Regions from separate parts of the Homo sapiens genome. Here all the other regions are linked to region 1. Evidence: promoter capture Hi-C in 16 types of primary human blood cells and fetal thymus (Javierre and others, 2016). All regions are on one chromosome and are shown on one strand. Each heading gives the region's core, a stretch centred on a gene start or on the middle of the fragment in contact. The rest is flanking DNA. Distances are from core to core; before and after follow the strand shown.

Region 1 (3,345 bases), core at 351-2,850:
TCTTGCTCTGTCACCCAGGCTGGAGTGCAGCGGCACAATCTCGGCTCACTGCAGCGTCCGTCTCCGGGTTTCAAGCGATTCTCCTGCCTTAGCCTCTGAGTAGCCATGATTACAGGCACATGCCGCCATGCTCGGCTAATTTTTGTATTTTTAGTAGAGATGGATATTCACCACGCTGGCCAGCCTGGCCTCGAACTCCCGACCTCAGGTGATCCACCCCGCCTCGGCCTCCCAAAGTGCTGGGATCACAGGCTTGAGCCACTGCGCCGGCAGGGGGCAAACATTTCATGATTAATCTGACTGAAATACCATTTTTAGGTTCATCATTAGCTCGGACTACAACTCAGGCTGTGCTGTAACTTTGTGTCAACTCATTGATCCAACAGTGTGTCCTTCACATTTTTTCTTATGGCCACTGTTTTTTGTGTTACCAAAGGTGAAGGCATAGCCTTCCTCTCCTCATGTTCAGCATCTTCTGCGTTTCTCTGTTTATAAACAATGAGAAAAAGGGAAAATCTAGTATTTCTCTGACCCTGAAGAACACATATGGGATTCAGAGATTCAAAGTTAAAATGCAACATTAGGGTACATTATGTCACCAGGGACCGAAAAGAACACGGATAATAGATGCCAAAAAAATGTATTAAGTAATGTTAAAATTAATTTGTGTGAAGTTGACCAAGGCTTTTAAAACTAGACCTTTGTTTCCTTGATTCTTCTTCTGAATTTTCTGTTCTTTTGCTAGTCTCAATATTTTTTATCAGAGCGTCAGGGACAATCAGGACCTAAAAAACTCCACTTGGTGTAATAAGTAAACACATGTTGGGGCAAAGTATTGCTGAGTGTGTGTGTGTGTTTCTTATTTGGTATCAGAAACACCTTCCTTTCCTCAATAAACTTTTACATATTTCCAGACTTTTCTCTTAATTTTATGTAACCTTACAAAGATTTTTTACAGCTTTCTCTGCGTGCCAGTCAATTAATGTGTGTCACATGAACAAATAATACGGCTTGAATAAACTCAATCCTATTATTGCAGGTTGCGAAGTCACCTACTCCGTTTTTATGGCGATGCTGATTTGGGGCATTCTGCTCTTACAGGCTGATTCCCCGGTAAGGAAACGGTGTTTTTTCCCCATCCTACTATGAAAGATGCTATCTGAGGGGCAAAGGCGCATCTGCATTTCACGACTACCCACTAGGCTACGACAGCCTCAAGCATGGCTTATCTGGTAGTTCCGCGAAGGGCTCGCTGCCCTCCTGGAGCTATTGGAGTCACCTGTTCAAGGTCGCGAAACCACCGGTGCCGCCGGCAATCAGCGAGGTCCAGCGGGGCTGCGCGGTTTCCGGCCTGCCGGCGTTCGGCGTCGCCTCGGCCCCACCTGGTGCCCCGCAATCTGCGCAAAGGCTGGGAGACCGCGCCCTCTCCCGACCTACCACCAGCCCAAGCTGGGCCCGGAACTAACACCCGACAAGCGCTGGCGGCCAGCTGCAGCCGGGAAGGAGCACCGGAAGGAGGCGGTGGCGGGGCGGCCGAGGGCGGAGCGGGCCGGGGCGGGGCGCGGCCTACAAAAGCCACGCGCGGCGCGGTGGGCGGGCCTGGGCGCGAGCGGCTGAGTCGGCTGGGTCTCTGGCGCCGCAGAGGCCGCGGGCGAGGACCGGGAGGGGAGAGGGAGGAGACAGGAGGAGGAGACGCGAGTGCGGGGTGGCGCCGGTCCACCTCCGCAGCGCTCCTGCCTCCCCCAGGCTTTGGAAGGCGGGCCCGGGCTGCGGCAGCGGCGGCCTCGGCTGCCTGGGGAGGTGAAGTCGGGCTGCGGCGGCCTCGGTCGGCGCGGCGGAGGGAGGCGGCTGACCCGGCGAGGGTGGGCAGGTCTGGGCGGCCGGCGCCGCTGCGAGGTGGAGGGGCGGCTTGGCATCCCCGGGGCGGGGCGGGGCTCCCGAGGGCCGCGGTCGGTGCGTTTTCCGCAGGTCAGCCTCCCCCGGGGCCTTGCAGAAGCGGCTTCTGCGTACCCGGGGCGGCTGTGGGAAGGGTGGGGGTCGGTGCCTGCAGGGCTCTCCGTGGCCGCTCGGGAGAGGTGCTCTTCGCTCAGGCTCCCCCGGAGACTTGAGGGGGTGCGCGCTGGCGTGCATGGGGCCTGTTCTGTCCTTGGTTTGGGGATGCTCCTAAGGGGGGAGAAAGGGATACCTCGGGTGCTTGGAGGTCGAGAGACGGATACGTAAGTGCGCAAGGGCCACTGATTAGGGCACGGGAAGGGCTCGCTAGAATGAGCTCTTAAACTGGTTGGGTGTAAGCGGTTTTGGGCTAGTCTAAACCAAACAACTGAGAATAAACGCGGGGTTCCTGCAGGTTGAGAGAGTACCTGTCTGCAAATGTCCAGTAGTGATGGATTGCCTTGTAGGCCCCAGAGCAATCGGGGAAGTTAGCATTCTTGTTCAAGAAGCTGCTGGTTCACTTAGAGCTATAAAAGAATGTTGTGAGTTTGGATTTTCTTCCAAACGTTCAGGATTGAGGTTAGGGCTGGTGGTGAGGGATCATGTAAAGAGGTTTGAGTGGCTCAGCCTTAGGTCCCGGTGTGGAAAGCTTATTCTTTTGGTGTCATCACGTGGCCATGGGAATTATTTAGAATGTGATCTGCCCTCATGAGAAGAAAGGAGCTCTGAAGCCGTTGCAGTTCTTCCTCCCTATGTGGAAAATCGAATTTCTGGAAACATCCTCCGTATTGGGAGATTTTGCCTATGTAAAGGCTATCCTTATTGGCTAGCGGCACTAATTACTTTAAAAGTAGGATGGAAGTACAAGTATCTCAAGCATCATTGGGTTTCGAGCTCACTTCTGTGGAAAAGAGTTTAAGGGAGTGGTCTAGACTTTCCAGGGAAGTTATTGCCTGGCTGTGTCCCTCTAGTCCTAATTTTATACTTAACTTTCCCCCACCTCCTTCAGCCTCATCTGTTTCAATGGTGCAACTCTTTTCATCCCCTTTTGGTTACCAGTCACCTTCAGGCCATTCAGAGGAGGAAAGAGAGGGGAATATGAAGTCAGCCAAGCCCCAAGTGAACCACAGTCAGCATGGGGAAAGCCAGCGGGCCTTGAGCCCCCTGCAGTCTACTCTGAGTTCTGCTGCATCTCCTTCCCAAGCGTATGAGACCTATATTGAAAATGGACTCATATGCCTTAAACACAAAATTAGAAACATCGAGAAAAAGAAGGTAACTTTTTTTCTTCCAGTCCTGTAGATGCATGATCTTAAAGATTAAGGAGCTGACATTTTTCTTTCAGAGCTCATAGGTGTTCTCTACTAAAAATTTAACTAACCTTAGGTTTAGCTGCTTTAAACAAGCAGGTTA
Region 2 (3,345 bases), core at 575-3,074, 1.5 Mb after region 1:
TGTGGGCGTTTATGTAACTTGAAAGCATTTCAACATAACATGCCAGCTTGAGAACACAGGATTTCAGCACAAGCTTATTCACTGAGAGGACTGGGTAAACTCCCTAGTATAATGCTGTTCAGAGGTCAAAAAGAGAAGTGGATTAACAATAATTTTTTTAAAGAAGCTTTTTGTCTTCATTACTACACCTTATTTGTCATTTTGAGTCACCCAGTTCTAAATGGAGTGAAGCCAAGGGAAAGGCCTCAAATACATAAACTTCCTTTCTAGCTCCTCAGAAGTCTTGAAGTCGTGTGTCACACTGGTGTGACTCCTTCGGTGTAAAGTGGCGTGCTGAGCATTAACACGGATGTTTGCAAACATTTGAGGCAAGGCCTATGCTCTGTGTTCAGACTTAGCACCAGGAGAAGCCCACATTGCTCCCACATTTGCCATCCTCAGCTGTCACAGAATACATGGGCTGAGGTGATTTCTCTGTAGAGACTCTAGTGAGGAAAGGGGGGATTTGTTCACAGCTTCGATGCACGCACCCAGGGGGTGCTACACCCATCAGCAATTCTCTCTGGAATCAACAATTCCCTGGAGCATCTGAGGTGCTCCTGCCTCCTCGGAAATGAAAAGCAGGAAAAACGGCAAGCAACCCAAGTCCTGCTGCTGGAATAGGCAACAGGAAACAGGAGACTTTTCGTTTTGAAGGTGTTTGCCCTGCTTTTTATTTCAAATATTGATCTGGGAAAGGAAGGGAGATTTTACATTTCATACGTCTTTTAAAAAGAACTCAGCATCAAAGGAAACATTGAGAACATTGTCAGGTTGTGATAAAGTCTGCAAAAAACACCTCAGTGTGAGAGAATAAAAAAAGAAATAAGAGAATTAGCTGGAGAGATAAGAGGAAGGAGAGGGAGAACAAACTCATTTTTTTTCCTGCAGAGAAGGGAAAAATACTGAGTAGTATATACACACTAAAACAGAAACCATGATGTACAGAATAACTAGATCAATCTAAATAAATAAAGAAGATCAATCTAAATTTACAGAAATTCCTCTTTCACTTTCTTGAGAAAGTCTTTCCAGATTTCCATCAGATACAAAATAGAAAGCCACAGCAATATTAGAAGAAGAAAAAAAAAGATGAAGTGGAGACATGTATACATACACATTTTGGCATATGTGTACATACATACAAAAGCATCCACACATTATATTTGTACACACACATACATTATATGTGTAGCATGTGCATAGCTTAATCTTTCTTTAGTACACATTCAGAGTGGCACTTTCAATACTAGCTTTTAAATACACAATGAGGCCGGGTGCGTGGCTTATGCCTGTAATCCCAGCACTTTGGGAGGCTGAGGTGGGTGGATCACTTGAGGTCAGAAGTTCGAGACCAGCCTGGTCAACATGGTGAAACCCCGTCTCTACTAAAAATACAAAAACTAGCTGGATGTGGTAGTGCATGTCTGTAATTCCAGCTACTCAGGAGGCTGAGGCAGGAGAATCACTTGAACCCAGGAAGCGGAGGCTGCAGTGAGCTGAGATCGTGTCACTGCACTCTAGCCTGGGTGATGGAATGAGACTCAGTCTCAAAAAAAATATATAAAAAAAAATATACATACACACACACACACAATGACATTCCTAGTGCTTTAGAGAAACGTACATATATTTTTAAGATGTATACCTTGTGCCTGTGATTAATTACAAAGTTCAGTTACCTTTTTCAATGACTTCATCTCTGGATATAGTTACTAAACGCTGCCTGACTACATTCCAGAGAGGAGTAAGAGAGCTTGAGTGCCTGGTGGGAGAGGGAATGCCCATGAAGCAAACTGGGCTGTGGATGATGAGACAAGGCAGTAAATTCACATTTTCAAATTAAAAAAAAAACAACCCATTTTGTGCCATGATTTCTCTGTGTCACCTCACCCCTTCTGGGAGTGCTTGCTACACAGTTATATTGGTGGTACTTTTGGAAAGTGGAGCAGCGTCGGCCATTGGAAGTCATATGGAAGGAGGAGTCCTGACAGGTAGTGAGCCAATTAGCAGGGAGAGGAAGAATTGCACGGAAGCAGGACTTCAGAGTGGGAGTTGATGGTGAAACTACAAATTGGCCAGGAATCCCTGGAAATGCAGGTGTAAGCTCTGACTTCCAGAATGCTTGGAATCTGGCATGAGTTATGTTTTTGCTTACTAAAGGGAAGGTTGACTCCAACCTGTCATTAAAATATCTGAAATTATACTATTTTGTATAAACAGTGGTAAGTGAATCTTATGAGCCACGCTGTCGACAGCTGGAGTCAGGAGAATATAAACATTTGTCTTTTTGATAGAGAAAGAGATTTTGGAAGCTCTTGGAACGATGGAAGATGTGAAGGCTAGAAAATTGGGGCAGCAGATACCATCTCAAACATAGGATAAAAGTAATGTGGAAAGTAAGAGCCAGATGACTGGATAGTGGTTCTCTGAAAAGGACTAATATAGGGGCAAAGAATACCTAAATCATCTTTCTGTTTTAAAACATGGAAAGCTATCTGTCCTTCTTGTGTAGCAACAATAAATAAAATACAACAATAAGATTTCTGTCATTAATAAAGCCAGAGGATATATATTAATCATCTACTTAGAAGAATTTTCAAAACCTGAGTTCATATATATAAAGGATTTGCCAGATTTTAAATTATTATTACATTGTTGAAGGATAATATTTCTCTGCCTTTGCACTTTGAAAAAATATAAAATCTTTGGTTATGATGACTTTGGGGGACATTTGTTTTGTGGCTTTCCAGCATTTTCCTCTACTGGTCATCACCTCACATCATCTCTTCCCACGTGGGTAGTCTTTTGGGAGCTGTTACTCAAGATGCTCTGCCCTCTTAGCCAAGGGATAAAATTTTTAACTTTGAGTAAAAGGACACAAAGTTTTATACACACACACACACACACACACACACACACAGTTGATTCATTTAGCTGTGGCACATTGGCCAGATAATCTAGTCAATTAATACTTTTCTAGATACAAAAAAACAGGACTTTGATAGCTCTTAGGAAATGGAAAGGGTTTCCTGCCCTTTCTCATGCCAGTTCTCTAGCCATTCCATTGATTGTGTGGCTATCCCCTTTACTTCCAGTAAATTCCCTATTTGTTTAGTTTGCTAAGGAAGGTAGAATTCTAAGATGAACCCTAGTGACTCACTCCGTGTGTAATCCCCTCTCCTTGTGAACAGGCAGGTCCTATAACTTGCTTCTAACAACAATACAGCAAAGCTGATGGACCATACTTCCATGAGTGTTACTTATTATGTCAAAAGTGAAGAGATTTCACAGATGCAATTAAGC
Region 3 (3,345 bases), core at 599-3,098, 1.5 Mb after region 1:
ACTGCTGCTGGCTGTGGGGGCCTCCATTCCCCTGCCTCTCACACCTGCACCCTCAGTGCACACGCCACCTTTCCTTTTTCACATGGCAGCTTAGCTGTGTCTTCTGGTGACTGTGTAGCCTCAGAAGCATGGTTTTTAGTAGGTACAGATCTACTAGGAACTTTCCATTAAAGCTTCTAAGAACTGAAAGACAACAGGAGGCAAGGAGAGCAGGAGAAAGAGGGAGCATAGAGATAAAGAAGATAAATGATCCTCATTTCAAATGAAGACTGCTCAGTGAAAAACCTCCTTAAGGTAGTCTTTCCCAAACTTGCCTGCTCATAAATATGAATTACACAGGGCCCCTGGGAAAAATCCAGATTCCTGGGTACCATTTTAGAATCACTAAATACATCTGCAGAGTTAAGAGTCTGATAATCTGTATTTTCAACATGCCCTGGAAATTCCAACAGTCGGGCAAATCAGGGAATCACTAATTTAAAAGAAGTCCACTCCATAAACTTAAGTCATTGAGATTTGAATATATCAGGATTAGCTCTCAAAAACGCATTGCTTCATGGAGTAAAATTTCAACAGAATTGAATTTTAAAAGAATTAAATCCCTGGTACTAGAAATGCAAAACATGACAAGTATGCATGTTCTAATCTGGAGTTAATTTGATAGGTGCAACCCCATATGCAAAGCAGTAGCCATGTCCTATTGTTTTTTTCTTTCCCAAAACATGGAGATGTTTTTTATACCTGTTGCCTCACCCTCATTCTAGTCTTCCATACTACTCCTCTCTGGTAATGGGTCTCGCTTCCTCCGTCTACTCCCTATGCTAATCCACTGCCTCCCCCGGCCCCTGGCTATATTAATATTCCTGAAGCCCACTTTCATCAGTATTTTTCCATGATGAAAACAAATGAGCAAACAACCCCAAATTACACACAAAAATGCATGCGCACACATGGCCCTCCTTCAATGGATCTCTACTGCATAGAGAATTAAATACAATTCCTCTGCATGGTATGCAAAATCTCCACAGTATGGCCCATCCTCCCCTCCAGCTTGATCTCTAACTTCTTCCCTACACGTAACACATGCGCTGCCAAGATGGACTACTGGCTGTGTCCCAAACACGCCTGGGTTTCCCAGCTCCAGCTGCCCTGCCAGGCACGTGTGCACATCTCACCTATCCACACTCTATCCACTCTTCCAAGTCTTCTCATATGCCTCCCTCCACTCCACCAGACTTAATATGACCTGTTTCCCCACCACCACACGTGTATAATTCTGCCGTGTTCTATTTGTCTTGGATACGAGCTCTTTGGAACATAGTCTATATCTTAAGAAAGCACCTTTTTTTTTTTTTTTTTTTTTTTTTTCCTTTGAGATGGAGTCTCGCTCTGTCGCCCAGGCTGGAGGGCAGTGGCACAATCTCTCGGCTCACTTCAAGCTCTGCCTCCCGGGTTCACGCCATTCTCCTGCCTCAGCCTCCCGAGTAGCTGGGAGTACAGGCGCCCACCACCACGCCCGGCTAATTTTTTGTATTTTTAGTAGAGACGGGGTTTCACCGCGTTAGCCAGGATGGTCTCGATCTGACCTCGTAATCCGCCCAACCCAGCCTCCCAAAGTGCTGGGATTACAGGCTTGAGCCACTGCACGCAGCGAGAAAGCACCTTTTAATCTCTACCACTGCCAAGTACGTGAGTAGACTGGAAAGACCATGGGCTTCAGAATCAAGTGGCCATGGATAAAAATTGTGTCTGAGAGACTTTCAAGGAGTTACTTAGCCATTTTGAGCTTTTTGCTCCGTGATTAGTATAGCAGTGATAATAATATCAACCTTACAATATTACGTTATGGAATTAAATGTCTGTGGAAGTGTCTTCCTCACAGTAATTGCTCAATAATGATTCATGTCCTCCCTTCCCTTCTTAATTCAGATTTATTTACATATGCTCAATAGAGCAATAAATATTTGTGATTCCATTTTTCTAGTACCTGCTTCCAGTTATTTCAGGTTTTTATACAGGCACAAAAGCCCTTTTCTTCTACACTGCTTTCCCTAAGAGGAGTTACCTTGACCTAAAAAATAAGGAAAGCACCAACCATAAAACCCTGCCTTTCTTGGTCAGTTATGTGCATTTTAAAAAATAAACATTCTACATAAGCTGTTATTCTGGAAAACTGGAATTTCACTGGCAATCCCTGATCCATTTATGCACATAAATTTCCAAAGGTAAATATACCAACTAGGCAGAAGCTGGCAATATGAAGGTAGAGCTGAGTCAGAATGGGAACCGGTGGCTGGGATGAGGGGCAGAAGACAACTACAGATATAAGAGCCAGGAAAATGAGTCGCTAAACACTGATTAACGGCCAGGCTTGTCATACTCATTAAAAGCATTAACTCCTGATTTAAGTTATTTTTAAAATATATTTCTGCTAATGTGCTAAAGTTTTTGTACTAACTTCATCTTTCTGGAATATTTCAGGGCCAAGGTAATGCTAAAAGTTTTTAGATAGGGGCTAAAGAAAGGGAGCTCAGGCCTGACAGTCTCAGCATACAGGATGGATAGAAAATGGGGGGAGCTGAATGAGCAGAGACTTTAGGCCTGCAAAGGTTGGGACCAGGATGTAAGCATGGGGTTCAAGTTCACAGTCCCATTATTAACAACACTGAGCAGTACCACTGCTGCCCAAGCAAACAGGAAAGGTCCGGGCCAAAAATGCATATCCTTCTTTATTTCCCAGAACTGGAATTCCCATTCAACTGATTTTCTGGAAAAATAAAGTTTCATTTTACGTCGTCATGGTGATTTTCTTGAGAATATAATGCCAAGAGTACAGCTTCAAGATCATCTTGTTGTCTAACGCCTGGTTCCTTATAAATAAATAAATAAGAACTGCTGAATTACTAAGAGCAATGGCAGCCACTAGACCCCTTGAAGTTACTGTTAACAACAACAACAACAACAACAACAACAACTTTCCCCCAGGCATTTCTCTGTTGCACTGAAAGAAAGGAAAACTCCCAGGGGAAATAGAAACCTAAAAACCTTGGAAAATAATTCCATTTTAACACAGACCAATTACTAAATAGAGAATTACTCAAAGAAACAAAGTATTTTCCTAAAACAAAGAAACTAAACCTGGATTTAGGTGAATTGATATTTATTCAGAATGATTTTTAATGTTGTTATTCTAAAACTTCCAAAAATTCCATCTGGTATAGGAGTCGTTGAAATAGTCGTAGATCATGGTATAGTTGGTGAGGGGTTGCTGGGTTTTATTTAAAGTGCTATTCAAAAGTTAACATACAGGTTTCATTCAAAGTTTAAGAAGAAAAAAATGAACAA
Region 4 (3,345 bases), core at 303-2,802, 1.4 Mb after region 1:
TAGATTGGGGAAGTTCTCCTGGATAATACCCTGCAGAGTGTTTTCCATCTTGGTTCCATTCTCCCCGTCACTTTCAGGTACACCAATCAGACGTAGATTTGGTCTTTTCACATAGTCCCATATTTCTTGGAGGCTTTGGTCGTTTCTTTTTATTCTTTTTTCTCTAAACTTCTCTTCACGCTTCATTTCATTCATTTCGTCTTCCATCGCTGACACCCTTTCTTCCAGTTGATCGCATCGGTTACTGAGGCTTGTGCATTCGTCACGTAGTTCTCGAGCCTTGGCTTTCAGCTCCATCAGCTCCTTTAAGGACTTGTCTGCATTGGGTATTCTAGTTATCCATTCGTCTAATTTTTTTTTCAAAGTTTTTAACTTCTTTGCCATTGGTTCGAACTTCCTCCTTTAGCTCAGAGTAATTTGATCTTCTGAAGCCTTCCTCTCTCAACTCGTCAAAGTCATTCTCTGTCCAGCTTTGTTCCGTTGCCGGTGAGGAGCTGCGTTCCTTTGGAGGAAGAGAGGCACTCTGATTTTTAGCGTTTCCGGTTTTTCTACTCTGTTTTTTCCCCATCTTTGTGGTTTTATCTACCTTTGGTCTTTGATGATGGTGACATACAGATGGGTTTTTGGTGTGGATGTCCTTTCTGTTTGTTAGTTTTCCTTCTAACAGTCAGGACCCTCAGCTGCAGGTCTGTTGGAGTTTACTGGAGGTCCACTCCAGACCCTGTTTGCCTGGGTATCAGCAGCGGTGGCTGCAGAACAGCGGATATTGGTGAACCGTAAATTCTGCTGCCTGATCATTCCTCTGGAAGTTTTGTCTCAGAGGAGTACCTGGCCGTGTGATGTGTCAGTCCGCCCCTACTGGGGGGTGCCTCCCAGTTAGGCTACTTGGGGGTCAGGGACCCACTTGAGGAGGCAGTCTGCCCATTCTCAGATCTCAAGCTGCGTGCTGGAGGAACCACTACTCTCTTCAAAGCTGTCAGACAGGGACATTTAAGACTGCAGAGGTTATTGCTGTCTTTTGTTTGTCTGTGCCCTGCCCCCAGAGGTGGAGCCTACAGAGGCAGGCGGGCCTCCTTGATCTGTGGTGGGCTCCACCCAGTTTGAGCTTCCAGGCCGCTTTGTTTACCTACTCAGGCCTGAGCAATGGCGGGCGTGCCTCCCCCAGCCTCACTGCTGCCTTGCAGTTTGATCTCAGACTGCTGTGCTAGCAATGAGTGAGGCTCCATGGGCATAGGACCCTCCAAGCCATGTGCTCCCGCACATGGTGTGCCATTTGTTAAGCCCGTTGGAAGAGCGAATAGGAACAGCTCCAGTCTACAGCTACCAGCGTGAGCGACGCAGAAGACGGGTGATTTCTGCATTTCCAACTGAGGTACCGGGTTCATCTCACTGGGGAGTGCCGGACAGTGGGTGCAGGACAGTGGGTGAAGTGCACCGTGCGTGAGCCGAAGCAGGGCAAGGCGTCGCCTCACCCAGGAAGTGCAAGGGGTCAGGGAATTCCCTTTCCTAGTCAAAGAAAGGGGTGACAGATGACACCTGGAAAATACAGCCATCTGATATTTACTCCCCAGTGTGACTTGGTTTCTTCTACATGCTGTCAGGTACAAAATAAAACAAAAGATACATTTTAGAAAATTGTTTCTTAGTGGGAAATGTCAATCAATATGGAGTGAAAACCTTAAAATTTAGTTAAAAACGGGATACATGACTGAGAAAAAGGCTAGGAACATGTATAATATACAAAAGAATTTCAGAATATGCAAAGATTTTAGGACTTATCCTTTGTGACTGCCAAGAAGTTAAAGAAATAAGTGGTGCTGGTGCTAAGGAATTAAACTGAAGACCTGTCTTGAGAAATGAAAGTCTGAACTGTTGTAGAGAAATCCTATAGAGAGGGAGATCGACGATGCAGCACTGATGAAGGGAGGTCTGAGGTGAGGCAGAGTGCATAGGTGTAGGGATTAGCTTTAACAAGGTAAGGAAGGAACTGTAGCTGGGAGAGGCAGAACAATTTTGATTGGACAAGAATAGTGGATGATTGAGTTTATAAGCAATAAAATCATTATTTTTCATTGAAGTCATATGCTGTGGCAGATAAGGGAAGAACACAGCCACCCAGAGGTACTGAGGGTTTGTAGAAATGATAACTATCAAGGAGTGACAAAACGATTGAAGTGCAGTAGATAAAACATGTTGGCAGATCAGCAGTTAAAGATTTAACCAAAGTCCAAGAACCTACATTTCTTACTTACATTAAACTTGTTTCCTACGGTGGTGTTGATAGCATTGACTGATTTTCTTAGAAAAACAAAGCAAAACAAAATCTGTGTCTATAACCAAACGTCTTATTCATTCATCAGCTTTCCAAATCAAATAATTCTAAATTCCAAGTGAGTAGCATTTTCCTGGTGCTTAAGTCAGTGCTCTACTTACTCTCTGGTCTTCAGGACTCAGCTCAGACATCAGCATTTCTGTATTGTACGTGCTCCATTCCCAACTCCGGTTGATGAAATACTCCAACATGGAAACAGTTCTTAAAAGCCGATTCATGAGCTTTGTCATCCTGAGATAACCATCAGATAGGAGTAAATATCAGCGCACCACTTCCCTGTCACTCTACAGGGATGTATGAGAAATTATTTTTAAGAAAATACAAAAATTATCCCTGTCTACCACTCCTCATTAAAATTCTTCTTCTTTTTTCTCCTTCCACATTAACTCTCTATTCATTCAACAGAAAAAGAAAAGGGCTGGATCTAAAGGAGCTTGTTCTGTTAGGCATTTAATACCAGACTCCTTTTCTAACACCTATTTCTCAAGAATAGCAAACCTATTTTAAAAGTGAGCCAACTATTCAGCTTGAATGACATACTGTTCATTTTTTGAATTCTGATGTAGACAATTAGAAAACTTTCTCATCTTTCTTTTTGAGACAGGGTCTTACTCTGTCACCCAGGCTGGAGCGCAGTGGGGCCCAGCTAATTTTTTGTATATTTTGTAGATAGGGTTTTGCCATGTTGCCCAGGCTGGTCTTGAACTCCTGGGCTCAAGGGAGCCAGCTGCCTTGGCCTCCCAAAGTGTTGGGATTGCAGGCATGAGCCACTGCACCTGGCCTTATTTCTCATTTTTATTGTACTTTCTTGTATTTTAAGAAGTTGATAGGATCTGAGGTCTTAGTATGTAACTTTTGGGCAGAAGTGTTGACTGTATTAGTGTTTGTTGAATCAAAAGCAGTTGTCAATCATAGTGGAGATTAAAAAAAAAAAAAACTTCTTGTTGATAACCTATTCTGTGTTAGGCACAGTCCTGATACTTTCACAAAGTATTCTCTCTGCTAATTTTGAT
Region 5 (3,345 bases), core at 486-2,985, 1.4 Mb after region 1:
CATCAGATTGAAGTAGAATTGAATGTAAGTTCTGTCATTTACTTGGTGGTAGCTTGGAATAGATCACCTACCTTTTCTGAGGTTTTCTAATCAGTAAAAATAGCAATAATAATACCTAATTTGCAAGTGTGCTATAGGATTAAATATGAAAATGCCTAGAAGGCATTTAAGACATTTTTAACTGTACAGTATGTAAAATCATATGTTATAGTACTTTGAATTATGCAATACATGAAACTAGATTTGTAATCAGTAACATGTTTATGATTTTTGTCCTGAGATCCTGGAATTCGCTAAGATTATTTGTCGAATTGTAATGATGAAAATTGGGAGTTAAGTACAATAGAGAAAAAGGAAACAATTCTATTTTCATCTTCAGTCCTTATTCAGTATTAGATGGAGCTGGGTAGTTTATTATACTTAGAATCATATTTTTAAATGAATGAATAGCTTTTCTTTCGAAATTCTTTGTTAGTGCTTCATTTCAATCTATTTAAATTTGTGTTGTTGACATCATTTATTTTCCAAAATTGTATTGGTGTGGGAAAACCTTGAAAAGATTGTGTTTAGGCCCGGTGCAGTGGCTCATGCCTATAATCCCAACACTTTGGGAGGCCAAGGCTGGCGGATCAACTTGAGGCCAGAAGTTCCAGATCAGCCTGGCCAACATGGCTAAACCCCGTCTCTACTGAAAATATAAAAAATTAGCCGGGCATGGTGGTACATGCCTGTAATCCCAGCTAATTGGGAGGCTGAAGCACAAGAATTGCTTGAGCTGGGAGGTGGAGGTTGCAGTGAGCCAAGATTGCACCACTGCACTCCAGCCTGGGCAACAGAGTGAGACGTCTCAAAAAAAAAAAGATTGTGCTGAGATCGTGAATTATGTGGCCTTGTGACTTTGAAAAGAAATCCATTTGTTTTAAAATCTTTCTTGATTATTTTTAACCATGGAAGTGAATAATGCAAACTGCTTTGTTTTCTTCCGTAATCTATTCCATTATAGTTATTTATTCTTAAATAACAGTTTAGGAAATAATTAAAAGCATAAACTTATTGTTTATTACAGGCATGTTACATGGAATTGGAAAATTTATAGTTGAAATAATTTGCTGTCGTTTCAGACTTGGATCCTATAAACCTGTCAATTCTGTAAGTGGTGTAGTATACATGGTGCTGATCTCTAAATCTTAGAATCATTGTTAAGTCTATGAGCCAGTCATGGTGGCTCACACCTGTAATCCCAAGACTTTGGGAGGCTAAGGCGGGAGGATCGCTTGAGCCCAGGAGTTTGAGACCAGTCAAGGCAACATAGTGAGAGCCCCATTTCTACAAAAGATAGAAAAAATTAGCTAGGCAAGGTGGTGCAAGCCTGTAGTCCCAGCTACTTGGGAGGGCACAGTGGGAGGATCACTTGAGCCCAGGAAGTTGAGGTTGTAGTGAGCTATGATCGTACGTACCACTGCACTCCAGCCTGGGTGACAGAGCAGACCCTGCCTCAAAAAAGATAGAGATAGAGAGATAGAGAAATAGGGGGAGAGAGAGAGAGAAATAGTAGCTTTTGGTTACTAGAAAGGATTGCCCAAAATAAAACCTTGTGTTTAGAGGAAAGAGTATAAGGAATAAAACTAATTCTTTGGTCTTTTTTTCCCTCCTTTTCTCCTTAGGTTCCTTTTGAGGATGGCCACACAGACAACCACTTACCTCTTTTAGAAAATAATACACATTAACACCTCCCGATTGAAGGAGAAAAACTTTTTGCCTGAGACATAAAACCTTTTTTTAATAATAAAATATTGTGCAATATATTCAAAGAAAAGAAAACACAAATAAGCAGAAAACATACTTATTTTAAAAAAGAAAAAAAAGGATAAAAAAACCCAAACTGAAATTCTATATACGTTGTGTCTGTTACAAATGTCGTAGAAGAAATCATGCAGCTAAACGATGAAGAAGCCCAACTGGAGTGTTGCTTTGAAGATGACGCCTTCTTATATTTTCATAGCAAATGGGTGGTATCAAAATCAGACATTGCTTCTTGCTGATAAAAAGCCTGAAGGAAATAAGTGAAACTACATCTATGGGAAAAAAAAAAACATTGAGAAGTGCAAATGTTCGCATCCTTTTGTTTTTAAAAGATATGATGTCAGAATAAAATGTGGAAAACATACGGAAAACTAGTCTAGACTTTAAAGAATTGTGATCAGGTCACATTGTTAATAAAAAAAAAAAACGGGCTAGTCCCTATGTTATAGCCATATTAATGTTAAGCCATATTGACAAGACCAGTTATCCAATAATTTGGTCTTAAAAAGTAACTACTTTTCTTTGAACTCTGGTTATTGACTTATCTAACTGTTGAAGATAGAGTCTTAGAAGACTAAGGTAAATTCTCACAGGGGCAGATATGTAGGTGTTATGTAACTAGGGTGTCATTCACAAATGGTATAGTAGAATCTTATACACGGAAAAGAAAGCACATTTTTTTAAAAAAGATGCCAAGTTTTTTAATCTAATCATTATATTATTGGTGTATTTTGGGCAACATAGGGTGAGTTATAAAAAGATCCGCTACTGATAGTGAAAATTACCGGTTTGTAAAACATTAAGAGAAAAAATAGGATATTTTATACATGTGGTGAGTGGAGAACAGGGTAACTTTAAATGAAAGTGTAAGGCAAATTGTAAGCACCACAAGATATATCAGATTTGAGAGGTGCCATGTTAAACATTGTCCATTAAACTATAAAACTGTATTATGAAGTATTTGCATTCAGGGTGTCCTGAATATGATTGATTCTGTATTAGATTGTGTTCTAACTTTCTTACTATTTAAGGATTGGTTCTAAATCTTCACATTATAAAAGATTAAAAACAGTGAGAGGGAGCTATCACACAGGTACTATTAAAAGCTGTATTTGGAATATGTGTACCAATATCAGTTTTCCTTTTGTAGTACTGAATGGCAGTAGAAGAATCAGCAGCCAATCCTCAAAGTTTAAATCATTTAAGGAAATGGGGAAACAAAATTCCAGGTAAATAACAAGACTGAAAAACTAGATTTAAAATAGTGGTTTTAGAAAACAGGATATCACAAGTAACAGTTTTTCAAATGGATTTTTTTAAAGATAAATTTATGAAAACAGGATAAACAATATAATGGAGAGAAGGAGAAATAGTGATGGGTCTGTTTTGCAGTAAAGTTTATGCAGAATGACGTTTTGCAGAAAATAACAGAAGCATCACTTTAAAAAATATATCATTAAGAGCCATGACGTTAACTGATGAAAATAAGTGATATAACATACTTTGAAAGATTTTTAAACAGAAAATTCTGAATCGTGAATG
Region 6 (3,345 bases), core at 846-3,345, 1.4 Mb after region 1:
TAATTTCCAGTTTCACCACTTGAATGTGGGTGAACAAAAGCACTGAATATTAGCTGTCTCTGGGCTCTTAGAATTTTTAGTAGAAAGCCATCCACAGATGAAATACTTTACTTTGATCCAGAAACATTAAAGTGAGATTTCTCCTTTCATTTAGAATTTTTTTCAATGCTCGAAACTAGTAATAAGTGGGAGAAGAGATTGTATTTTTACTATTAAGATGATATAAATTTGCCATCATAGTAGTTTTCTGCATACTTTCATGTGTGGAATATAGGCTGGGATATTTATTGGCACAGTGAAGGCAGAAATTTTTTTCATAAACACACATAATATATACATACATATACACGTATGTATAGTTTGTTGTCATCAAACCCCTTGATCACTGCCATGCTTCAAAAGTTGATCTCTCGAATTACAAGACACAAAAAAAGTGAAGATTTCCATTTCTGCTGGCATTGAATCCAAAGATTCAATGTCAAAGATTCAATGTCTTTAAATGTCTGAATCTGAAGATGGGATCTGGCTTCTTGAAGCATCCTAGATTATCACGTTCTGATTCTAAACATTATTAAATAGCTCTTGAATGGCCTAGAGATACCCAAGGTAGATATCTTCCTAACTAATGTGCATACCAAAATGTTCTTTACTTCTAGAATTTTCTAAGAGATTTAAATTTTCTCTCAGTTGGTGTTCTATAATACTTTCCTAAAATATTTAGGATCACAATTAATCTCTCTTTAACTGTAAATTTCAAACCCTGGACAGAACCTTTCTGGTTTCTACTTTTTATGTCGAGATTTCAGATTTATTTTATTCCAAACTATACAGTATAAATATGAGTTGTTATTTTACATAGGCCTGTTATACTAATTTTCTAGATAGATGATGCATAAGTTTTTAATCTTCTGCTTGCACATCTAGAAAGTACTTATTTTATCATTATGGTGGGATGGTAAAGTATTATGAGATTCACATTTGCTTTCTTTTTGTGAGTACCTATGTTTATAACTTTTTTCCAAGTTACATGTATGTATTTTTCTTTTAGAGTAGTTAGGCTCACAGCAAAATTGAGCAGAAAGTAGTGTTCCTATATACCCGTCCCGCTACAGGTTCCCCCATTATCAACAACTTGCATCAGATTGGATATAGTTGTTATAATCAGTGAACCTATGTTGACACATCATCATCACCATAGTTTACATTAGAGTTCGTTCTTGGTGTTGAACGTACATTCTGTGAGTTCTGACAAATGTATAAGGACATGTATCTACCATACTGCCATACAGAATGATTTCACTGCTGTAAAAATTATCTGTGCTCTGCCTGTTTATTCTTCCCTTCCCACTGTGTATAACATTTGTACTTACCAAGTTTGAACTTTACTACAGATGATTTGGAATATTAGTTATTTGAAGAAATAGAATTAAAAGAGATAAAATAGGACTACATCTAATGACACAAAGTTATTGCTGAAAATTGTAGGAGTTAACATGGCTCAATGGTAGAAGTATTGTAGAGAGAAAAATTTTTGTAGTGAAAATCAGTTACTTGTGGTATGAGTTTATACTGAGTAATGTACCATTTCAAGTCCATCAAGTCCATTGTGTAGCCCCTTATTTGTCCTACTCTTTGTATCTACAATATTTCATTCAGTGTCTGACAAAGATAAGAATTTTGTTAATTGTGCATGTATGCATGAAAGATGAATTGAGATACTTAAGTGAGTAGAAGCCCTACTTTGGTGGTCCTGATGGCACATCCATTACTGATGGAATCAAACAAGCTTATGGAGCTCAGCTATTAGACCTCTTAGCCACCCTGCCTCATTTGCTTTCAAGGAAATGACCAAAGAAAACTTGGTATGTTATTTTAGAATATGAAATCCTGTAATAATAAATGTATGATTTAACTAAGTCAGCTAAACATTGTCATTTTTGAATAAGTGTCAGCTCTCTTTGTGTACCTTTCTGTAGTTCTAAATTATTGCTTCTTATTTAGGATGCTGCAGCTGATTCAGAGTAGGCTACAAGAAGAGCATTCACTTCAAGATGTGATATTTAAAAGTGCTTTTAAAAGTACATCAACAGCTCTTCCACCAAGGTGAGATCTGTATTTTAAATGTGCAACTGTTTATTATGAATTTACTTTGACATAGTTAAAACTAAAGTGTTGGTTTAGTTTTCTGAATCTTATTTTTCTTAGGAAGGGAAAATAGAATCATTCTGTACTATAAAGACGCCTTTTGCTCTTAAATTTATAGCCTGTGATTTTGATCAGAATTATCACAAATATTTATTTGCATTTAATTTTCTTTTTTATGCGTGGTATACCCCCACATAAAATTATATTGAGTTTTAAGAAAAATTAGTTTCATTTACTATTTTGAGGATATATAAGCTTTGGTTAGAAATTTTGTTTTATTTCCCGTTTTTGTATTTTAATTAAAGATTAGAGGCTGGGCGCAGTGGCTCACGTCTGTAATCCCAGCACTTTTGGAGGCCAAGGTGGGCGGATCATTTGAGGTCAGGAGTTCGAGACCAGCCTGACCAACATGGTGAAACTCCGTCCCTACGAAAAATACAAAAAAATTAGCTGGGTGTGGTGGGTGCATGTATGCAGTCCCAGCTACTTGGGAGGCTGAGGCAGGAGAATAGCTTGAACCCAGGAGGCGGGGTTACAGTGAGCCAAGATTGCACCACTACACTCCAGCCTGGGTAGCAGAGCAAGACTGTGTCTCAAAAGAAAAAAAAAAAAGATTCGTGGATATTTGGAAATGCTATAATCATAAACATAATAAAAATATACAAGATTTTACATTTGCTTAGGAAGAAAATGTCACTGTCTCTTTGAATTTAGGTGGCATGCCTTTCCTTTACCTCAATCATGTTTCTGCCCTCCCTCCCTCTCCCTGCTACAGTACCAGAAATAAATGAAAAAAATATGTCTTTTTGGACTAATTATTTTGTTTTAGTCTTCTGTCACTGGACTTAGTCCTCTGGTTAGAGTTGAAGAACCATGGAATTTCAAATTTATGTAAATGTAATAGATATTAAATACTTTTTTCCCATTTTATAGATGTATAATTTTTATAAATGTCTAGACTTCAGGAAACTATTCTATTTTTAACATTTAGAATATTACCTAAAAAATGATCTTTAGGGATTTTTTTTTCTATACACATTTTTCTCATCATAAAATGGTAACTGTATTGAATGTGCTTTAAATAATATATCTTATTTTAACAGAGAAGATGATTCATCACAGTCTCCAAATGCATGCAGAATTCATGGCCATCTATATGTCAATAAAGTAGCAGGGAATTTTCACATAACAGTGGGCAAG
Region 7 (3,345 bases), core at 280-2,779, 1.4 Mb after region 1:
GGGTATCTGGTAGGATTTAAAGGATTTGAGAACACCAGTGAAAATGAAGAGCAGATTTATCTTAGGAAAGAGCTTGAAGGGTAGTTCCTACTTGGGGAGGTAAATGTGTTTTGGATTTTAGAGGTGGAACAGTTTTAAGGGTTGACCTTGCTCATGGGTGGCTTTCCATAGAATTAAGATGGAGGTCACAGGAGGAGAAGCGCTGTTAAGCTTACATGGTAAAAAGGTTTTATTGTGAATGAATGCTATAGGATAAATGCCATCAGAGCATGAATTCCAAAGGATGATAATGGAGTGGGGGAGAAGCATATTGAATGATCTGGGTGCTGAAGTCATTAAGCAAATTATGAATATATTCAGATGTTAGTGGAATATAGCAACAAGTACGGAAGTGAGAATCAGTGTGTACTGTGGTTTGGAGCATAGTTTCAAGTTCTACCACCTGCTATGTAGCCTGGGAAAATTATTTGACAGTTCTGTGCCTCATTTCCTCATCAAAAAGTAGGATTAAAAATAGTACCTGCTGCTTCATAGAGTCATTTACAAGATTAAATGAATTAATGTTTAAAGAGCTTCAAATAATACATAGCACAAAACATGAGAGATGGTTGAGAAATATGGTAAAACATGATACTTCTGTAACCTGTGAGTCTCAGAAATGACTAAGGATTGGAATGGAACTGCTGCCAATAGAAAGTCAGGTTTTATAAAGAGAGCAGACAGCAATTTCTTTTAGAAAAGCTAGAAGTTATTGGATACCTTGTTTATGCCAGACAGTGACTTTTACAGTAGGTTGGCAAGTATGCAAAATGGAATGAATTTCTTGGAGGTAGGTTAGTGCTGAGCTTTCAGGAATGGGACTGGTGGAGTAGCTGAGGGGCGAGGTGCTCCATTCTAGAGTGATATCCCCTGGAAAACAGGGATGGAGGAAGCTAGAGATGGGTAGGGAGCCACATGATATATTCCAGCTAGACTTTCAAGGGAGGAGTGTTGAATAGGTTGTATGTATTATTAGGAGATTTGTAAAACTAACTGCTTGCCGTATCTTTATGCTTATATATAAATTAAAAGAGCATTTAGAAAGCTCATTATACAAATATAACATTTATATAAACTTTTAGAAATGTAATTCACTGTTTTATTCATTTGTTTAACAGTGCTATACTGACTATGTGATGGCCACTGTTCTAGGTCCTGGGACAGTAGACAACAGGAAAATCCTTCTTGTGGATCTTATTTTTATATATTTACTTACCTAAGTATGACATACTGCTGTGATTTGAAAGATGTGCTACTGTGGTGTTTCTGGGAAAATTTCCTTCCTTCCTTTTCTCAATAAATATTGAATACCTGTTCGCTAGGCATTGGAGATACAAAGATCAAGTTAGACATGGTTCCTGCTCTAACAATCCGGTGGAGGAAACAGAAAAAGAGGCAATTAGAAATAGTGTGATAAAGGTACAACGTTCTAGAAGCAGATAGACTTTGAAGGCCATGGAAAGTTTTTTTGTTCCCCCTGCTTGCTCAAGGTAGAGATGAGTAGACTGGACCTTGAAGAGTAAGTAGGAGTTAGTCAAATGTAGAGATGCGGTAGGGGGAAGAAAAAATATTTCTGGCAAAGAGAATAGGATATTTAAGGAATTGAAAGTGATTTAATATGGTTGGAACGTAGACTGTGAGTGATTGGGTTTGAAGAGAGGTTAGCAGGACCTGGTTTTTGAAGGGCTTTGTAAAACATGTTAGGATAGAATCCAAGCTCTTAAGTGTAGTGGGAAGGGAAGTTTTACAAAGATTTGAAGAGAAATATCAGATTTATGTATTAAAAAGATAATTTATTATTACAGTATAGAGAGAGAATTGGAAGGTTGAAGATTAGAGGTTGTTGAAGCAATGTAGTGATAGATTGTGGCAGTTGGGACTAGGAACATACTTGGACATAAGGAATTTCTCAGTAGGCCTGAAGAAGAGAAGACAGGCAGATTTAAGAGAAATTTAGAAATAGCTTAAGTCTAAAGATATAACCCATGTTTCTGGCTTGTGTAGTTGGGCTTATGGTGTTATCATTAAGATAGATACAGGAGGAACAATTTTTACAGGGTGAAGTATTCATTTTTGGACTTGTTGAGTCTGAATTGTGTTTGGAATGTCCAAATGAAAAGGTAACAGAAGGCAAGGGGTTATACATATCTGCAGAGAGATCTGGGCAGAGAATCAAGATTTGGGATAAATCAACATGCAGATTGAAATGGAAGGAGTGGGCGATCATTTGGGGAAGGTGTGGAGGTTAAGGGGGAGACCTAGTGCAGAATCTTGAGAGAAAGATGAATTTGCACAGTAAGCCAAAGAGGGTTTTCCAGGTAGAATGAAAATTGGGGATGTGATATCACTTAAGTCAAGGTAAGAGAATGTTTCGAGAAGAAAAAGAAGTGATAAGCAGTGTGTTTTCTCAGAGGTGCAGTTAGATAAGGACTGAGGAGTGTCTGTCAGTACTAAGGAAGTTAATTACCTTGCTCAGAGCAAATTTAGTTAAGAGGTGAGAGTTGGGTGAGGAAGTAGTCACAGTAGATGAATGGGGACAACTCATTCTTTTAAGTTGGCTGTAGGTGTGCTGCGAGAGATGTATTGTTGGAGTTGGACTTGAGTTTAAGGGAGAGTTCTGTTTTAAAGAGAAGAGACATACAGATATTTAATATTTTACTCAAATCAGAAAGAGTAGAAATTGAAAGATTGAAAAAGGGTCAGTTTTTGTGCAGTTACTACTAAAAAGGTACAGAAAATAAATTTGATTATCAGAGCTAAACAAGTTTAGCGGGCATGGCATATACATAACAAACATTCAGAAGCTTAATTTATCGATGGGAATACCAGTTTTATAACTGACGTGGGGGTCAGAAAACTGTCATCTGTTTTGTCTATGACATCTATTTTTTTCTTTCGAATACTAAGTGCATGGGAAAAAAATCATAATTCGAAGGCTGCTTTGTGAGTGTGGAACCAGCAAGGGAAGTTTAGTTGGTTGATTTTAATGGCAGAGGAAATCAATGTATTAATGCTTTCAACTCTACTGTAGAGTAGTAGCTCCCTGCTGGACTGATAAATAGTGCTCCTGGTCAGAGCTTCTTTCCTTTAGACAGTATTCATGTTTACTGCCAGTTTTTCATTCTCTGGCCCTTCTTTTTCTTTATGAATCTTCTTTCTTTTGCCTATTCTTTGTATATTAATCCTCCCCATTAGATTTCAGACCCAAAGTCTGTCTGCTCTCTTCCAGAGACATTATTTCTCTTATAGTGACTTCTGCAACTGTACGATTTATTCTATTATGTGTTGATTTTATTAATAAAGCCT

Evidence for each region. Contacts are between HindIII fragments. The CHiCAGO score rates a contact against its expected background, and 5 or more counts as called.
Region 2: a fragment that was not itself captured here is called in contact with the fragment with the promoter of CAPRIN2 in region 1 in 1 of 17 cell types (monocytes); the score reaches 7.5 in monocytes.
Region 3: a contact is called between a fragment that was not itself captured here and the fragment with the promoter of CAPRIN2 in region 1, in 1 of 17 cell types (non-activated CD4 T cells). The highest score is 5.0, in non-activated CD4 T cells.
Region 4: a contact is called between a fragment that was not itself captured here and the fragment with the promoter of CAPRIN2 in region 1, in 2 of 17 cell types (naive CD4 T cells and naive B cells). The highest score is 5.4, in naive CD4 T cells.
Region 5: a fragment that was not itself captured here is called in contact with the fragment with the promoter of CAPRIN2 in region 1 in 7 of 17 cell types (total CD8 T cells, activated CD4 T cells, naive B cells and 4 more); the score reaches 9.9 in total CD8 T cells.
Region 6: a fragment that was not itself captured here is called in contact with the fragment with the promoter of CAPRIN2 in region 1 in 11 of 17 cell types (total B cells, naive B cells, activated CD4 T cells and 8 more); the score reaches 13.6 in total B cells.
Region 7: a fragment that was not itself captured here is called in contact with the fragment with the promoter of CAPRIN2 in region 1 in 16 of 17 cell types (total B cells, non-activated CD4 T cells, activated CD4 T cells and 13 more); the score reaches 37.3 in total B cells.

What each region holds. Positions count from the first base shown.
Region 1 is chr12:30,753,206-30,756,550 of GRCh38, reverse strand. CAPRIN2 (caprin family member 2) reads left to right here and starts at 1,600. Exons shown (of 19, transcript NM_001385503.1): 1 at 1,600-1,800; 2 at 2,992-3,207. The coding sequence starts at 3,031. LOC645485 (a long non-coding RNA gene) reads right to left here and starts at 1,477. Exons shown (of 2, transcript NR_135046.1): 1 at 1,280-1,477. RefSeq lists silencers at 72-275, 1,367-2,046 and enhancers at 1,974-2,143, 2,147-2,226. The HindIII fragment of the contact is 2,894 bases long and covers 1-2,583 here.
Region 2 is chr12:29,239,070-29,242,414 of GRCh38, reverse strand. The region is part of intron 1 of FAR2 (fatty acyl-CoA reductase 2); the gene reads right to left. Among named protein-coding and RNA genes, the nearest start is that of FAR2-AS1, 77 kb to the left of the region's middle. The HindIII fragment of the contact is 3,311 bases long and covers 169-3,345 here.
Region 3 is chr12:29,300,260-29,303,604 of GRCh38, reverse strand. The region is part of intron 4 of FAR2 (fatty acyl-CoA reductase 2); the gene reads right to left. The region is part of intron 3 of FAR2-AS1 (FAR2 antisense RNA 1); the gene reads left to right. Among named protein-coding and RNA genes, the nearest start is that of FAR2-AS1, 16 kb to the left of the region's middle. The HindIII fragment of the contact is 3,345 bases long and covers 176-3,345 here.
Region 4 is chr12:29,321,013-29,324,357 of GRCh38, reverse strand. FAR2 (fatty acyl-CoA reductase 2) reads right to left here. Exons shown (of 12, transcript NM_001271783.2): 10 at 2,434-2,563. Among named protein-coding and RNA genes, the nearest start is that of FAR2-AS1, 4.8 kb to the right of the region's middle. The HindIII fragment of the contact is 3,687 bases long and covers 1-3,345 here.
Region 5 is chr12:29,339,538-29,342,882 of GRCh38, reverse strand. ERGIC2 (ERGIC and golgi 2) reads left to right here. Exons shown (of 14, transcript NM_016570.3): 13 at 1,067-1,149; 14 at 1,665-3,345. The coding sequence ends at 1,727. Among named protein-coding and RNA genes, the nearest start is that of FAR2-AS1, 23 kb to the right of the region's middle. The HindIII fragment of the contact is 4,925 bases long and covers 1-3,345 here.
Region 6 is chr12:29,356,381-29,359,725 of GRCh38, reverse strand. It overlaps ERGIC2 (ERGIC and golgi 2), which reads left to right. Exons shown (of 14, transcript NM_016570.3): 7 at 2,002-2,103; 8 at 3,249-3,344. Among named protein-coding and RNA genes, the nearest start is that of ERGIC2, 23 kb to the left of the region's middle. The HindIII fragment of the contact is 614 bases long and covers 1,789-2,402 here.
Region 7 is chr12:29,373,359-29,376,703 of GRCh38, reverse strand. The region is part of intron 1 of ERGIC2 (ERGIC and golgi 2); the gene reads left to right. Among named protein-coding and RNA genes, the nearest start is that of ERGIC2, 6.1 kb to the left of the region's middle. The HindIII fragment of the contact is 2,633 bases long and covers 213-2,845 here.